Linked DNA regions of Homo sapiens: region 2 is linked to region 1. The links are contacts of gene promoters, found by promoter capture Hi-C in human tissues and cell types (Jung and others, 2019). All regions are on one chromosome and are shown on one strand. Each heading gives the region's core, a stretch centred on a gene start or on the middle of the fragment in contact. The rest is flanking DNA. Distances are from core to core; before and after follow the strand shown. Region 1 holds the start of HOXB9 (homeobox B9). Region 2 overlaps SKAP1 (src kinase associated phosphoprotein 1).

What was found. The method cuts DNA at HindIII sites, captures the fragments that hold promoters and counts their contacts. A contact is called where the count stands out against the background at its distance.
Region 2: a contact is called between a fragment that was not itself captured here and the fragment with the promoter of HOXB9 in region 1, in 2 of the 25 tissues and cell types used here (IMR-90 fibroblasts and heart left ventricle).

The regions. Positions count from the first base shown.
Region 1 is chr17:48,625,095-48,627,794 of GRCh38, forward strand. HOXB9 (homeobox B9) reads right to left here and starts at 1,264. Exons shown (of 2, transcript NM_024017.5): 1 at 659-1,264. The coding sequence starts at 1,175. RefSeq lists an enhancer at 117-794 and a silencer at 2,205-2,360. The HindIII fragment of the contact is 6,922 bases long and covers 1-2,700 here.
Region 2 is chr17:48,368,942-48,371,641 of GRCh38, forward strand. The region is part of intron 2 of SKAP1 (src kinase associated phosphoprotein 1); the gene reads right to left. Among named protein-coding and RNA genes, the nearest start is that of SKAP1, 60 kb to the right of the region's middle. The HindIII fragment of the contact is 6,067 bases long and covers 1-2,700 here.

The sequences.
Region 1 (2,700 bases), core at 14-2,513:
CGGGGAGGGGCCGGCGCATCCGGGGAGGGGGCTCAGTCACCGCGTCCTGGGCTTCCCCCGCCCCTCCTGTCGCCGGTTGCGGACTCTGCGCGGCTACAGCGCGAGATCTGCTAGGAACAATCCTCCGCCAAGCTGTTGCATCGCAAATAAAATCCTAATGAGCTCCCTCCCCCTTCCCCTTGGCCGGCTTTTACGGTCTGCGCGTGGCGCGGGGAGCTCTGCCAGCCGCACGGCCCCGGGCAGCCCAGTGCGCTCCGGCCCTTGCCCTCGCCGGCTCTCGGCCTCGCTGGCCGCTGGCCCCGGCCCCCGCCAGCTCCTCTCCCGGCCGTCGCCGGTCTCTGGCCGGGCTTTCAGCTGGGGCCTCCGGGAGAGAGGGGGAAAGAGGGCCGAGAGAGCTGCAAGTCGATCCCCGAGCCCCTGTTCCCCGCAGGACTTGGAGAAGTGGGGGCAGCGCTCCTCTGGCGGCCTCAGTCTCCCCTTCTAGAGCACGCAGCTTTCCCCTTCCCTCCGTCTTTCCTTCCTCTCCCCTCCTCCTCCCGGCCCGCTCTCCGGCCACCGCCGCAGTTTCCCTTCACATTGTCCGCAGTTTATTGCCTTTCCCCTCCCCGCCCCCCTCCTGGCCTTCGGCCTGGGTATTTCCTCACTTTTTATAACTTACTTTGATCCGGCCTCTCTTTGTCCTCGCTTCCTTCGCAAATTTTATTGTCCCCGTAGCCGGGTCTTTGATTAGACAGCACGGCCTCCCTGCCCGCCGAAGTTTCCAAACTGTACTCGGGCGTGCCCTGTTTGAGCAGCTCCCCAGGCGCGCCCAGCAGCGGCTCCGCCTTCACCGCCGCCTGGCCCTGCCCCGGGGCCGCTTCGCCGCGCGGCGCCGGCTCCAGCCAGGTGCGGAGGTACCTGCTCTCGGCCGGCGGGACGCCCTGGGGCTGGATGTAAGGGTGGTAGACGGACGGCAGGCTCCCGGACGCGTGCGGGCTCAGCGGCGCCCAGGAGGCGCCGAACACCGGCGCTTTGGGCTGGAAGCTGCACGAGGGGAACTCCAGGTGCTCCGCGTGGCCCGGCTGCCGCGAGCTCGCGTACTGGCCAGAAGGAAACTTGGCTGGAGGCGCGTCCTCACTCTCGTGACTTATGATCGAGTCGACATAATAGCTGCTAAGCGTCCCAGAAATGGACATTCTCAGACATTATCCGGGCGCTTGCAGGGGGAAGGGAAGCGCTCGCGCGGCGGCGCCCAAGCAGGGAGAGGTGGCACCCGGACCGGTGTGAGGGCTTTCGGACGCGACCCCCCCAGCCCCCCACCCTCCCACCCCCACCCCCTGCTCAACTTCTCAGCCAACAAAGTACAGTGGAGCAGCCCGTCTCAGCTCTCCTTGCAAAATGATTGGTCAAAGTTTTTCCGACTGCCTGATAAAGCGTCAGCTCCGACATAAATCAATCGGGCGAGGGGGCTGCGCTCTCGCTGTCATCCGTCCGCACCGCACTCCATATCGAGGATGGATTGTTTTATGCTGATGCAATGTGCTATCACGTCAGGGCTCCGGCGGCCACGTAACCTCAGCCCCAGCTACCGGCCGCCCGGTCCCCCCCTCCCGCTGCAGGAAGGGGGGCAGTTCTCAACATGGGGCGGCGGGGGCGGAGGAGAGGCGGAGGGAAGCGGCGGGCTGCCTTGGGAGGGACGCAGGCTGTAGAGCCCTCTCCCCAGGCGGGTCGGGGAGGGAGGGAGAGCAAGGGCGGAGGGAGGGAGAGAGCCCCAGCCCGGGGAGAAGCCATAGAGGCCCGAGAGGATACTGGAAGAGGAGGTGCTCCTGTCCCCCCACACACACCTCCACCCCGCAGGCCCTCATTTCCTCTTCTCTTTCCCCTTGACAAAAGATGTTTATTAAACAACAACAGCAGCAGCAATCCACAGGAGATGAAGTAAAATGATGAGGGGAAAAGTTGGGGATTTTAGGACGTTGTCCGCTTTGGAGGGGGCTCTCCTTGCACTCTTTGTAGAGATTTACATGACTGCGAGCTTCCCTGGGCCCCTCAGTAGCTGAGGGAGGAGGAGAGAGGTGAATAAAACGACTGAGTGTCCAAGAATCCACTATCTGTCCTGAAATTAGAAACTACTTGAGGTTAAAGGGATCCATCAGGTCCCGGAAACGTGAGCCTAGGAAAGAGTTTAATACAAGGAACCAGAGCGCCTTTACATTTATTGGGCCTTTCTCTGACTCTGGCCAGAAGGATGGATTTAAGATGGTGGTGGTGACGTGGGGGGTGGGGGTGAGGGAAGCCATTTCTCCTTTTCTCCACTGAATAACCACCCAGGCCCCTAAATTTGCCCTGATGAGGGAGCTAAATAGGAGAAAGGGTTAAGGCCACTTTCCTGAGGTGTGACCAGAGCAGAGGCCTGGGAAAGGATCCCCAGTCAGCAAGGGAAGGGGTCCCAAGTTATCTCCCCTTCCATCCAAAGAGGAAGGAGCCTGGGCTGAGTTTTCAGCCCTCCTGTACTACTCCTCTCACCTGAGGCTCCTGCTCTGGAGATTTCCAAACACCGATATAGGGGCCAGTGTGGACAGCGAGCCCATGGTCAGTCTCTTCCCCTCACTGCCTTACCCCCTGCAGACCCCTTCATTGGAGCTTCCAAATAGCCCTTTTTATATATATCTATTCTGTGGCCCTGCACAGGGACTCCCCCGGGGCCCACCGACTGGCTTC
Region 2 (2,700 bases), core at 145-2,644, 260 kb before region 1:
CAAGAGCAGCCTGACCAACATGGTGAAACCCTGTTTCTACTAAAAATACAAAAAAATTAGCTGGGCGTAGTGGCGCATGCCTGTAATCTCAGCTACTTGGGAGTCGGAGGCAGGAGGATCACTTGAACTCAGGAGGCAGAGGTTGCAGTGAGCCGAGATCGCGCCATGCACTCCAGCCTTGGCAACAGAGACAGACTCCATCTCAAAATAAATAAATAAATAAATAAATAAATAAATATAAAATAAAGATGTTTTAACTGAACTTTAGGTCAGATGCAGTGGCTCACACCTGTAATCCAAGCACTAAGAGAGGCCAAGGTGGGTATATTGCTTGAGCCCTGGAGTTTGAGTCCAGCCTAGACAACATGGCAAAACCCTGTCTCTACAAAAAGTACAAAGATTAGCTGGGTGTGGTGGTGTGCACCTGCAGTCCCAGTTACTGAGGAGGCTGAGGTGGGAGGATTGCATGAGCCTGCGAGGTTGAGGCTACAGTGAGCCATGATTGCACCACTGCACTCCAGCCTGGGCAACAGAGTGAGACCCTCTCTCAAAAAAAAAAAAAAGTAAAAAATAAAAAATGAACTTTAGTTTGGAGAAAGGTACAAATAAATTGAACCCACAGTATTGAGGGAATCTTGATAAGCAGCAGTCACTGTAGTAGTAATAACAGTAGTGCTAATAACAATGCTAAGATTTATTGAACATTTTGTTGGATGTTGCTCTAAGCACTTTTCTTACATTAACCCATTTCCTCACACTCTAACCCTATTATTATGCCCATTTTCTAAATAAGAAAACTGAGGCATCAAGGATTAAATAACTTACCCATCATAAGAAAGCTAATGGACAAGTGGACAAGTTTCCACCACCAACAATCAGTTTCAGAACAGGACCTCTAATGAGAAACTAAGGAGGAAAGTCTTGAAAATATAATCTAACAATTAAAACAATCATCAAAATTAACTGAGTCTTTCTCTAAAGATATTTTACTATTCTAAAATAATTCAGTGACTCAGTCAACCAATTCAATATTTATTGAATGTCTTCTATGACAAGCCCTTTGCCCAGGTACTATGGATGAAATGATGACTATAATAGATATGATTCGTCTACAGATATATTTCAGTATCTTTCATACTGCAAACACACAGTTCTAGGTTGCCACCCCAAATTCACAGAGTCTATAAAGAACTTAATCGGACAAGTAAAAAACAACGCCATTAAAAAGTTTGCAAAAAGCATGAACAGACACTTCTTAAGAGAAGACACACAAGTGGCCAACGAATATATTAAAATGCTCAACATTACTAATCATCAGAGAAATGCAAATCAAAACCATCTCACACCAATCAGAATGGCTATCATTATTATTATATTTTTTTGAAACAGGGTCTCGCCCTGTCACCTATGCTGGAGTGCTGTGGCGTGATCATGGCTTACTGCAGCCTCAACTTCCTGGGCTCAAGCAATCCTCCCCACCTCAGCCTCCCAGTAGCTGGGAGCAGCACGTGCCATCACACCTGGCTAATTATTGTATTTTTTGTAGAGACAAGGTTTCTCAATGTTGCCCTAGGCTGGTCTCAAACTGCTGAGCTCAAGCCCGCCTCAGCCACCCAAAGTGCTCGGATTACAAGCGTGAGCCACCACACCTGGCCAGAATGGTTATTATTAAGAAGTCAAGAAACAACAGGTGCTGGTGAGGCTGTGGAGAAAAGGAACACTTATACATTGTTGGTGGGAATGTAAATTAGTTTAGCTGCTGTGGAAAGCAGTTTGGAGATTTATCAAAGAACTTAAAACAGAACTACCATTCAACCCCGTAATCCCATTACTGGGTATATATCCAAAAGAAAATAAATCATTCTACCAAAAAGACATATGCACTTGTAGGTTCATCACAGTGCTATTCATAATAGCAAAGACATGGAATCAACCTAGGTGTCCATCAACAGTGGATTAGATTTTTTTAAATATGGCATATATACACCATGGACTATGATGCAGCCATAATAAACAATGAAATCACGTCCTTTTCAACAAGATGGATGCAGCTGGAGGCCATTATTCTAAGCAAATTAATGCAGAAACAGAAAACCAAATACTGCATGTTCTCACTTATAAGCGGGAGCTAAACATTAGGTACTTATGAACATAAAGGTGTGAGCAATAGATACTAGGGACTAATAGAGATGGGGAAAGAGAAAGAGGGGTAGGAGTTGAAAAATTATTGGGTACTATGCTCACTATTTGGGTGATGGGATCATTTGTATCCCAAGCTTCAGCATCACACTATATACCCTGTAACAAACCTGCACATGTACCCCCTGTGTCCAAAATAAAAGTTGAAATTGTAAAAAATAAACAATTCACAGAAAACATTGTCAGGCTTCTGCTGAAAATAGGGCTACTGAATCTAAATCAACAGATTGCAAGGGAGAGAATATCAGATTCTTGGCCATGGAGCTAACCAAAGAACATAGTTATTGAGATTAAAGTACTCAGAGCTTTATTCCCTCAGTCAGCTAATTAGATAGATCCTGATGAAACAGGTCAGACAAACAACTGTAGCTATCCTCATATTATTAGAAATACTGGTCAGGTGTGGTGGCTCACACCTGTAATCCCAGCACTTTGGGAGGCCAAGGCAGGTAGGTTGCTTGGATCCAGGAGTTCGGGACCAGCCATGGGTAACATGGTGAA